Linked DNA regions of Homo sapiens: region 2 is linked to region 1. Evidence: promoter capture Hi-C in 16 types of primary human blood cells and fetal thymus (Javierre and others, 2016). All regions are on one chromosome and are shown on one strand. Each heading gives the region's core, a stretch centred on a gene start or on the middle of the fragment in contact. The rest is flanking DNA. Distances are from core to core; before and after follow the strand shown.

Region 1 (6,121 bases), core at 1,329-3,828:
AGACATGAGGCTGGAAAGGAGGAGAGACCTAAATGGCCAAGGGCTGTTCTTTTAACTTTTCACATCACCAAAGTAAAATGTTGGTACAGTGATGGGGGCTGAACCTGAGGCATAACTGGGGCTACAACTTCTCTGGGAGGCTAGTCCTCCCAATAGAGTTTCCAAGAGAGCAGGAAGGCCACACAGTTCCTTGCTCTTTCCCCTCTCCTCAGACTAGAAAAAACATGGGCAATCCACAGTACTGAGCTGTTAGTATCAAAGATGGGCACACCCACTCACTGTGGTGTGGCAATCAGATAGCAGAGATCTGAAGGTGTCTCCAACAGGTCAGTACCCGGGAAAAACTGTCCAAGTAAATAAATATCTTGTTCTCCACACTGTCTTAGTCCGTTTCTGCTGCTATAACACAAATACCTTAAATGGGATACTTTATCAACAAATTTATAAACAATAGAAATCTATTTGTCCCAGTTCTGGAGGCTGGGAAGTTGACAGAGCAAGGCCTCAACAGATTTGGTGTCTGGTGAGGGCCCTCTGCCTCACAGATGGCGTCTTCCTGCTGTGCCCTCACAGTACAGAAGGGTGAAACAAGTTCCCTCAGGCCTCCTTTACAAGGGCACTAATCCCATTCATTAGCAACCAAATCACCTCCGGAAAGCCTCACATCTTTTTTTTTTTCTCTTGAGACAAGTCTCACTCTGTCTCCCAGGCTGGAGTGCAGTGGCGTGATCTCGGCTCACTGTAACCTCCACCTCCCAGGTTCAAGCGATTCCTGTGCCTCAGCCTCCCAGCTACTCGGGAGCCTCCCGAGTAGCTGGGATTATAGGCACGTCCCACCACGCCCAGATAATTGTATTTTTAGTAGAGGCGGGGTTTCACCATGTTGGTCAGGCTGGTCTTCAACTCCTGACCTCAAACGATCTACCCTTCTCAGCCTCCCAAAGTGCTGGGATTACAGGCATGAGCCACTATGCCCACCCAAGTCCCACATCTTATTATCATCACCTTGAGGATTAGGTTTCAACACATGAATGTGGTGGGGATATAAACATCCAGACCTCTTATTCCACCCCAGATTCCCAGGCTATAAGTACACTGAGCCTTAAAGGAAGTATTAGCTGTGGGTTGGTGAAGAGAATTCCAGAAGGAAAGAACAACGTATGCAAATGCCAGGAACCAGAAAGCACCCTTCTCCATGGGCAACAGAACCAAGGCTGGAAAGACAGGTTGGGCCTAGATTGGGAAATGCTTGGATAATGGGGTAGTCACCAGAACGGTTTATTCCTAAACCAGATTCCCCAGTTAAATAGAATAACCAAAATCGAAATGTGCAATGCTTGCTTTTTGTCCATGATAAGCTGCAGGGGAAACATTTGCAGGTTGGCTGACTGAATCCACAGATGGAAGTCTCTGTAAATTTAGGACAGATTGTCTCAGTTAATCTCTAGGACCAGTCAGACCTCTGTAATGATGGATTTGCCTGACATGAGAAAGTTCTACCTCTCATAACACAGTTTTCAAAAGTTAACTGCAATGTGGCCTTTATGTGATGAAATCTGGCTCAGGTGCCAAAGATCTGCAACATTAAGACCTTTGCAGGTGGGGATTCACTGTGATTTTAGGTTCCTTGGATCCTTCAGTCTTCTACTTCAGCTGAGGGTTCCCACCCAAGCCAGGACTCAGCCTTTGTTATTCTCATGCATTAGCCACAGGTAGCTATGTCACTTCAGAGTTCTGAGCACGATGAAAATGCAGACTTTACAAGCACTTCAAGTCAAGACAAGTGATTAGCATTGGCTCCAAGGGTTTAAAAGGAACTCAGCCAAAAACTGTTCAAAACTGGCCATTTCATCTGAACTGGGACAGCAGGGCACAAGGAGAGAAAAGGCTGGTTGGATTAATGCAGCCCCCGCTTTCCATGGCTCTACTGTATTTCACTGAGAGTTGCTACCAACTCCTGCGCGCGCCCCCACCCGCCCACTCCACTAATCTCGTGTCTTAATCAGAGATACAGGGAACCCGTGGAGAAGATGAAGTACAACTGGGATAAGAAGATCGTAGGTGTTTTACGTTTGAATTTAAGCAACAAATCTGTCGAGCTGTTTTTCTCCACTTCCCCCTTAGGCTGGGTCACGCGAGGGGAAAGCTCCGACCGCCCAGGACTCCTTAGAGTGAATCCCATCCCCTCAAGTTCCTCTCCAGAATCTCCCCCTCCTCCCGCCTTTGCCCTGCAACTCCTCCCTCTCACTCTGAGTCGCACGCACCCCTGTCCCCTCCCTGCCCGCAAAACTACTCTTCAAAGGCTTCCTTCCGGGCACCGCGAAGCCAGCGTGCTCAGCATTCAGGGAGGCAGCGGCGCTCGCCTTCATCCAGGACAACAAAACTGCCATTTCCGAAGAGAAAGGAAACGGCTCGCGGTTTCTGGGGTTCCCAAGCGCGCGCCTGCGAGGGAGGCCGCGAGCCGAGTCGCCACGCCCAGAACCCCGAGCCCGCCCCCGCGCCACCCAGCCCGGCCCCGCCGCCCCGGCTGCGCACGCGACGCCCCCTCCAGGCCCCGCTCCTGCGCCCTATTTGGTCATTCGGGGGGCAAGCGGCGGGAGGGGAAACGTGCGCGGCCGAAGGGGAAGCGGAGCCGGCGCCGGCTGCGCAGAGGAGCCGCTCTCGCCGCCGCCACCTCGGCTGGGAGCCCACGAGGCTGCCGCATCCTGCCCTCGGAACAATGGGACTCGGCGCGCGAGGTGCTTGGGCCGCGCTGCTCCTGGGGACGCTGCAGGTGCTAGCGCTGCTGGGGGCCGCCCATGAAAGCGCAGCCATGGCGGGTAAGTGGCTGCGGGGGTCGTCAGCCCCGTTCGTGGGAGGCAGCGCGCTGCCGAGGCTTGGGTTCCCAAGTTGGGCTCTGGTACAGAAAGTTCCGCGTGTGTCTGGCCGAACGCTCGGGGCGGACCCAGAGGTGACCGGGCGGGGTGGGGGAAACTGAGGTTTGGACCAGTCACCCGCTGGCCCCGGGGCCGCCTGCTGAGGAAATTGCCTGGTGCTTCCCCTCTCGCTTTTTGGATGCGGCGGTCGCAGGCCGGGACGGGTGCGCATAACCTGTTGAGTTACCGCAAGTTGGTTTTTACAGCCTTTCCCTGAAGTTAATGTTTGCCGAGGTTAGAGTTTCTAAGGCTTCCGTTTGTAAACAAGATTAGCTGAGTTGAAAAATATGTCTACCTAGGCCCGCGGAAACGTCTCCCAGTTAGTCGGGGAGCTTTTCAAGCGTCCCCCAGGCATTTCAGCGTCTAATATTATGCAGTATTATCCAGATGAATTACAATCTTTAGGTCCCCCTGACGCTCGAAGTTAGACTTCGGGGCTCTTGGAGCTAGTTGGGAGCTTTTGGGGAGCGCGCCCCGCCCTCGCGGTAGTTGAGGCGGCCGCCCCCATGGCGGGGCGCTCTCCACCCCTCGTGTGCCATAAACACCCGGCCGAGGCGCGCGGCAGCTGCGCAGCGTTAAGGGCACAGCTGCACGGTCGCCGGTGGCCCTTGTCGTCGCTAGTAAGGTCGTAACAGGATGATGTTGACTTTGCTTTTCTGTGTAGGGCGGAATTTGTTTCGTTTTAGGCCCTTGGCCCTTTGGAGACTTCAAACAGCCCTTTTTGGATGAAACCAGGAAGTTGGGATTTGTTGTGTAAATACTGTTTTCCTTTGTCAACTGTTAGAGAAGTCAGGTCCCTAGGTAATGGTCAGTAAACTAGGATAAGTTAAGTAACCCAAGGTTTTCATGGTTTTAAGTTCTATCCATCCACTGTATATGTTAGCCTTAGGTTCGTTTTATCCAGCAAAAGAAAAAGGCAGTTTGTAAATCTGGAAGGTTCAGGCACAACACTTGCTTTTTCTGGAATAACCTGGGTGAATTAACAATTTTTCTTTGTTTTGCTGAAGTTTTTTTGTTTGCTTAATTGTGCGTGTGACAAACTGGCTTCGCAGACCTAATTTTGAGATCATTTAAGAAAAAAAGTGGTAAAATCATGTCCATCGTGTATCTTGGTCCTAATTTTATACCAATTATCTCATGAGGTGAGGTCTCCATTTTTAAAAATTTGTTGCTGTGTTTGTGAAGATAAGCCTTACTGTTTCAATGAATTACCGATTAGAGAAACTGTGAGTGACCATGCTTTTCTTTCTTTTGCCCTGATAACACAGATTTTTTTTGCCCTATTTTAGCACTGTTTGTTCTGTTTATTACTTAATGTCTTACTAGAGGTTAGTCCCATTTGCAAAACTTGAAATGCTCTACAGTAGGCGAGCCCTGAATTCATAAACTAGTATAACCAACCAGAGGTGGAATCTGTTTCTACAGACTATATAATGTCACCTTGCAACTAGACTAAAAGGTATACAATAGAAGATTTCTCAAAAAAGCTAGTAACTGTTAATCGTAGTCTTCATGTATAGTGTAATCTGTATACAATGTCATTACGAAGTATAGTGATTTTTAGCCATCATACTAAAACTCTTAATGGCTGATTTTTACTGGGTACATATTCTGTGCATCCCACGCTATGCTAATTTAGGTCCATAAATCATCCCATTGAATCCTCACAGTATCGTCCCCATTTTATAGATAAGTAAGCTAATTTATGGCAAGTAAAACAATTAATACATGTTTGGTTTCAGATCAAAATCCAAATTTTCAATTAACCATTTCACCACTAAGCCGCGTTAGATGATGATGGCTCTTGAAGTAGATAATACTTTTATTCCACAGTATTACCATTGCCTAGAATATTGTGGGAGAAGATAAAAACATTATTGAAATTCTGCTTTTAAAATATTCTTCACAGTCAGCTGCATAGCTTTATAAATATCAGTTGAAGGAGGAGGGAGACTATGAGCAAGTTTGCAAATCAGCAAACAGGATTTATTGTAGTATTCCAATGAATGACATTAACATTAACAGGATGGGAGGGGCGGCTGTTAGTCATTACTCTTAGTGGCAAGTGACAGAAACCCACCTTGAACAACTGTGGAAAGAAGGGACTTTTTTGACTTGTAACTGAAAAGTGCAAGGATTGAGGTGGCTTGAAAATGGCTGTATTCAAGTGTTCAAATAAGTCGCCAAGAAATTAAGAAATCATCGCGTTAAGAGCGACAATAGCAGGGAAACAAAAACAGGCTGTTGTGTTAGCCCAGCCAAAAGATGATGGTGAGTGGCAATGGAGATAAAAGGGTGGATTCTAGATCTATGGGGGGTTGGGACTAATCACTTGCTGATGGATTGGAGGGTGGGATGAGGAAGAGAGAAGAATCAAAGGATGACCTCTTGGTTTTGGGGTTGAGCAGCTGGTAATGCAACAATTGGGAAGGTTGGGGGAGGAGCAGGTTTATAGTAGAAAATCAGTAGTTCCATTTTGGCACTCATATCTGCAGGCTTAGGAATCAAACTATCTGGTCCAATTCCAGTCTCTGCCACTTTGTATCTGGGCGGCCTTCTCTGGGCCTCAGTTCTTGTCTGCAAAACAATACTCCTAAGAATTGTTGAGAGGGTTAGATGAGCTAATGCACATAACCCTGGCTTGTGGTAAGCACCTAATAATGTTGGCAATTGTTTGCTATCTGCTGCTAAATACATCTACGTAGTCTGTTGACCTTGATCTTTTTCAAGTTAATCTTACACTGTATCCTTTTGTGATAAATAGATGATAGTCCCATCAAGAAGAAGAAATTCTCACAAAGAAGAAATTTGCCCAAGAAGTAAAGATAAATCCTTCAAAGTTACTGCTTTTCTTTGTACTTGGAGGATTTTTTTTTAAGTGGGGGAGAGTTCATCTTTGTGAAAAGGACACAATAATACACTTGCTCTCTCCCTATGTGTTATACATATTTAATCTTCATTAGACAAAGACTCAAAACGAATAAAGCACTCTGAAAAGTTGCTTAATTGGGACATAGAAATCTCTTACATTTTTTCCAAATCTAAAGGTGTACTAATTTAAAAATTAAAACCCTACTGAGAAGGTGCAGTTAAATAAGAAAATCCTATTTTATCCCTCCATTGTATGAAATTAGGGGTGTTGGTTGGGTGGTGCAAGACCTAGAGATGCCTGTGAGTAGAATCGGCCTCTCCTGAAATGGTCCACT
Region 2 (6,099 bases), core at 2,659-5,158, 640 kb before region 1:
GAAATATGATATTCGGATTGACCAGATTAGGGTGCCATTGTGAGGGTAGTTTCACAGGAACCACTTCAACTATTACTCAAAGACTTTTAGTCTTCTCCCATCACAGTTGGTTTGCAGAGATTATTTTACCAACAGAATTACTAACGACTTTCTACTATGTCTTTACATACAATAACCATTATTTAAAAACAGTATTTCCACCTAAGTGGAGATGAATAGATTACAGTGTGTTTTGGGTCTAGGGGGAGGTTCCTTAGAACTGTCCCCCAAATTTCTCTCTACTGAGTCGCAGTCACCTACTGTCTCTTATCGGAGAGGTGAGCTCTGTGGAAATAATGGCAGAGCTAAGTTTCAATACAGGACAAAGTGATATGCAAAGGTAGGGAGAAGGGGGAGTGGGTGGCTGATCACAGGCCCATAAAAAAAACACGCAAGACACAGGGTGACAATGCATTTACGGGGTGGGAACACTTCAGGTGAGGTTATCGTGTGGAAGAGCTCAGAAGTGGAACTTGGTCTACTTTACCAGGTTGTTTTTAACGTCAACTGCAAAGTATTAGTAGTTTCACTTTTTGGCGGTGACTGCCAGCATCAGAGCGCGGTAGAAGCTTCATGAGAAAGGTCAGGATACCCTGGACAGGATACAAGAATTCCGCGGACTGCCGCAGTCGACGGGTCAGACAGCTTCGCTCTGCCTGGCCTACCTACGAGTGGCAGAGGCTAACCGGAACCACGCCCCTTCCCGGGACCGGCTCCGCGATTGCGTCACTTCCGGGCCTCAGCGATTCGCCTCCGGGTTAGGCTGAGCCTCTTGCTTGCTGTGACTGGTGGAGCTGCCGCGCTGTCCGCGTTATCTCCTCCCGGTGAGAACGAACCGCAGTGTCCACCGGCGAGGAGCCAGCCCTGTCCCGGTCAGAGAAAGACGACGAGGATACCTGGGAGCGGGCGGCGGCCGGGCTGGGCCGCGCCGGTGCGGGCTGGCGACTCTGCTCCTCCGCTTGCTGCTGTCTCTGGGAACTGGGTGCCAGCGCTGAGGGGCTTCCAGCGGACAGGGACCCCCTTCCCCGGCTCCCCTGCCCACCCTGCCGGGGAGGGCGGAAGATGCCGGTGAAGAAGAAGAGAAAATCCCCTGGGGTGGCAGCAGCAGTAGCGGAAGACGGAGGCCTCAAAAAGTGTAAAATCTCCAGGTACCATCTCCCCCCACCCTTCAAGCTTCCCTCCTCCCTCCTTTGCTGGACAACTGGAGGAAAAGGAGTCGGGCCCGGCCTGCCGGGCTGGGGCTGGAGACAGGTGAGGCCCCTTTGATCGAGCTAGGCTGTAGGTGCCGAACACCGCGAGTCTCCGCGCCCGACCCGACCTCGTGTTCGAGTGTGTGCACGCTGGCGTTTATGGAGAGACTAGAAGAGCCGCCCACGTTAAGAGTCTACGTGCCCTGCAGGGTGGGGAACAGATGCATATGTAAATTGCGCTTCCCCCCACCCCCACCCCCACCCCACAACCGACCCTCGATCCCCTACTCCCGTATCGCTCCTCTGCCTTTTTCTAGACTTAGAAGTGAGTACATATCCGCAGAAGGGTCACTTCTAGAATTTCTTTGTAGAGTGTGAAGAAAGCAGAACATAAGGAATCTTGACAACTGTCTTGGGAATGGTAGAAAGGAAAACTTGTATGCTATAATTGGCCTCCATATTTAGTATTTGGAGTGGCCTAACCCGGAAGGTCCCAGCAGGAGGCCTTTTAAATTGCAGGAGCCCCATTTTCTGGAAGTATAGTGCCTCACCTATGCCAAGTCCCTGTGTGCAGAGTTGGAAAGGCCCTGCATGCTTTTTGTCTTCTAGCATTCAGGACGCTGTTAGCTCTCAGCATAAATTAAATAATTTGTGAGCTCTTGTACTCTGTCCTACTGGTAAGAAAGAAGACAAGGCAGAACTATATAGTAGTAGCTCTTTGATCCCCTTGTAGCATATCATGGAGGCATCACAGCAAAATTTATGCTACAAAAAAACTGCAATTTTGGTTTGAGAAATGGTTTTTTTGTTTTTTTGTTTTGTTTTGTTTTTCTGAGACGGAGTCTTCCACTGTTGTCCAGGCTGGAGTGCAGTGGCGCGATCTCCGCTTACTGCAACCTCCGCCTCCCGGGTTCAAGCGATTCTCCTGCCTCAGCCTCCTGAGTAGCTGGGATTATAGGCGCCCGCCACCACGCCCTGCTAATTTTTTGTATTTTTAGTAGAGACGGGGTTTCACTATGTTGACTAGGCTGGTCTTGAACTCCTGACCTCGCGATCCGCCCGCCTCGGCCTCCCAAAGTGCTGGGATTACAGGAGTGAGCCACCTCGCCCGACTGAGAAATGCTTTTTTAAAAAATAACCATATTAGCTGCCTTTTCATCAATGGTTGGCACTTGATATGACAACTTCAGATGCTACTATTGAAAGGAGACTGTAGCCAGGATTATAAGAAGGAAATAATGATAGAGCTCTCCTTAAAGAGAGATCTGCTTAAACTGTGAGGTAGATGACTTACATAGTCTGCATCTTCTTTTTTGTAATTGGTCGACTTTTTTCCCTCATTACTGTGTTTTGGTAAAGGAGTCTATGGAGTATTAGGCTATTAATGTGAACGATGATACATACACCTCTTGTTTGTCAACATTAGAATTTGACATGGTTACTTTAGTAGCTCACATTTTTATAAGATACAGGCAAATTATTATTCATTTTTGTACTATATCATGGCCATCTTAAGTATATAATGTATTAAAATTATTTAAGTTAAGTACATTAAGATAGCTGAGCAGGCAGTATTATTAGAACTCAGGTGATACTTTGCTCTATCAATTTAAATTTTTAAATATGATACTCTTACTTTACTCAGTTACAGAAGTTCTATCATTTCTATATCATTGTGGTAGGGTAATTATTTGAGTTCCTTGAAAAAAGTTTCTCTGAAGGCCATTAAATTCTAGAGGCCATTTTGAACTTACCAAATTTTAGTTATTTTATGAAAAACAATGAAAATGATTTTATGAAAAAAATGAAATAGAATGAACAGAACCTAGGATTAAATAGCCTTGTCCCAATTATTTGGACTATTATTAACTTTTAGTGTTTTTTTGTTGTTTTTTTTAAATCTGTGTAATTTAATATACCCTTAGGTCCTAAGTCATCATTTATCTTTAAAAATCTATTTAAGCTTAGGTGATAAAACAACTCTTAATATAACATTTTATTTTGAAATATTGATTCATTAAGTATCAAAATATACTTTGTAAGAGTTTGTTTTCAAATATTTATCTATTACACACAAATAGAATTTCTATGCAAATCAATAGAATCATAATAAATATTTATACTTTCCCACCTACTAGGTTGAACTTCTTTGTAGTCTTTTAAAATGTGCGGAAATAACTTACTGATATTTTTGGATTTTGATACTGAGTGAAAAGGTATTTGGGTTTTGTTAGCCGATAATTCTTATGTATAGACTACTGTTTCAAGTTGCAATTACTTAACAACTTCAGTTTTTTTCCAACAATGCCAACCGAAGAAAAAAAAAACCTTTGTTTAATGTGAATGGAAGTTGTTAATTTTGAACTTAGTTTTTCTCTAAGAGTTGAGATGTGATAAAAATCTTAGGCGTCTGTGTGTTTTCTAAGCTATTGCAGATCCCAACCCCCTGCTAGACTAATAAGTGGAGAGGAACATTTTTCAAGCAAGAAGTGCCTGGCTTGGTTTTATGAATATGCAGGTAATGAAATTAATATAAGAAGATACTAGTCATATGCTTTAAAAAGTTTATTTGCCTTATTCATTTAACAAATTATCTGTTACAGGCCTGCTATGTGTTAGTGCTGTGTACTGGGATGAGGGTCAGGACTGAAGATTGTGGGTAGACTAAAAATTTGTTGCCAATTTAGGCTGATATTTCTTTAAATATATATTCGGTATATATTTACTGGGAGGGAAGAACTCATTTACTATTAATAAAACGTGTAAACAAAGATTCATTTATTTACATCTATTGGCTAAAGTAGTATTCTGGAAAATAAAAGGTACACAATAAAACATTTTTGTATTTGATATTGTGGAAAACACAAAGTACATAATAAAACATTTCTATTCAATATTCTCTTTTTGAAATTTTTCTGAACTAACATTTTCTGAAACTTTTGGGGAGACATAGTAAAAGATTTAAACCCCTCAGTTATAATTGTACAACACATTTACTTTTTAACAATTATCATTTAGCCATCCACTTCTACTAGAGATGCAATAGTAAGAAAATAAATAGACTGATATTAATACAGTGTGATAAATACTATATTCAGAAGATACACTGTGAGAGTTCATAGGAGGGATATATAACCCAGCTTTTAAAGTGTCATGGGAGTTTTCTAGAGGAGCTAACTTAACCTCAGCTAAATCTTGTAACTGGTGGATGAAGAGCCCTAGGCCCAGGATGGGGTTGTGTTTTAGAGGCGAAAGTCAAAGCCAGCCAGAGATGGGGCTGAAGAGTTAAGCAAATATATGCAAAAGAACACTTATACTATCTCATAAATATATATGGAATTTTTTTCCCCTTAGAATAGTTTTGTTTTTTTGGAGTTATTGATTTTAAAGCTTTTTTCTTTTCCTTTTCCTTTTTTTTAACCTGCTTCACTTTTTTTTCTCCTTCTTTTAATCACTATCATTCTCAAAATGTTTGTTTAAAATGGAAGTGTATATGTAGCTATTGCCTTATATTTAGTGCTCATCCACATTAAGGTCTAAAGTAGTATACTTTGAACTTGAGGTATAAGTTTAGGCTAATTGTATGGAATGTGAGACTATTTTGAAAGGGGGGCAGTAACTTTACTGTTGGAATCAGCTGAGTGATCCCAAAGTACAATTTTAAAATTGTTTAGTAACAGAACAGATTCTTTCTAGACCAGAAATAAATGCTATTACTGGCATCCCAAGACAACCACTAACCCAATTTAAATGAAGGGAATTCATTTCTTACTGACCTCCATTTAAAATGTTGACCCATTATCCCAAATGCCAGTTTTACTGGTATGAATGATATATAATCAAAAGGTCACCCATCTTATTTCACTTATAAAGGTTACTAGATACAATAGAAATAGAAAATATTTGCCTCAACTAGGAACTTTCCTAGGTAGTGTAAGATTCTAATTAAACATTTGTTTACTATATTAGCATTTTTAATAGCCAACATAATAATTGCATTATTCCAGGAATTGTCCCAGGTATATTATTTTTTCTTGTGACTGTTCTATTAAGTAGGTAGTATTATCACCACCTCCCACTACGACTTTATTTTTTGAGACAGGGTCTCACTGTGTCGCCCACGCTGGAGCGCAGTGCTGTGATCATGGCTCACTGCAGCCTTGAGCTCCTGGGCTCAGGCCATCCTCCCACCTCAGCCTTTCTAGTAGGTGGGAATATAGGCATGTGCCACCACGCCTGGCTAATTTTTTAAATTTTTTGTAGAAATGGGGTTTCAGCCGGGTGTGGTGGCTCACGTCTGTAATCTCAGCACTTTGGGAGGCCAAGGTAGGCAGATCACGAGGTCAGGAGATCGAGACCATCCTGGTTAACATGGTGAAACACTCTCTCTACCAAAAACACAAACAATTAGCCGGGCGTGGTGGTGTGCGCCTGTAGTCCCAGCTACTTGGGAGGCTGGGGCAGGAGAATGGCGTGAACCCAGGAGGCGGAGCTCACAGTGAGCCGAGATAACACCACTGCACTCCAGCCTGGGTGACAGAGTGAGACTCTGCCTCAAAAAAAAAAAAAAAGAAAAAGAAAAAAAGAAATGGGGTTTCACGATGTTGCCCAAACTGGTCTCCAACTCCTGGGCTCAAGTGATCTAATTGCCTCAGCTTCCCAGAGTGGTGGGATTACAGGCATGAGCTGCTGTGCTTGGCCATACCCTCATTTTATAGATGAGAAAACTGAGACTTAGATTAATTAATTTGCCCAAGATCATATAGTGACAAGAGCCAGGATTCAAACCCAGGTCCTTCTGATTCTAAAGTCCATGCTTTTAACTACTATGCTTTTATGTATTTTTTATTTAAATTTTATAATGTTTATA

Evidence for each region. The method cuts DNA at HindIII sites, captures the fragments that hold promoters and counts their contacts. A CHiCAGO score of 5 or more calls a contact.
Region 2: a fragment that was not itself captured here is called in contact with the fragment with the promoter of TMEM123 in region 1 in 1 of 17 cell types (activated CD4 T cells); the score reaches 5.9 in activated CD4 T cells.

What each region holds. Positions count from the first base shown.
Region 1 is chr11:102,449,222-102,455,342 of GRCh38, reverse strand. It overlaps TMEM123 (transmembrane protein 123), which reads left to right and starts at 2,578. Exons shown (of 5, transcript NM_052932.3): 1 at 2,578-2,819. The coding sequence starts at 2,720. It overlaps TMEM123-DT (TMEM123 divergent transcript), which reads right to left and starts at 2,424. Exons shown (of 2, transcript NR_135053.1): 1 at 2,294-2,424. RefSeq lists enhancers at 2,215-2,324, 3,055-3,344, 3,525-3,574 and a silencer at 2,445-2,734. The HindIII fragment of the contact is 13,483 bases long and covers 1-6,121 here.
Region 2 is chr11:103,086,875-103,092,973 of GRCh38, reverse strand. DCUN1D5 (defective in cullin neddylation 1 domain containing 5) reads left to right here and starts at 814. Exons shown (of 8, transcript NM_032299.4): 1 at 814-1,187; 2 at 3,656-3,747. The coding sequence starts at 1,102. RefSeq lists enhancers at 360-409, 480-529, 459-1,076, 1,077-1,694 and a silencer at 1,220-1,514. The HindIII fragment of the contact is 1,427 bases long and covers 3,195-4,621 here.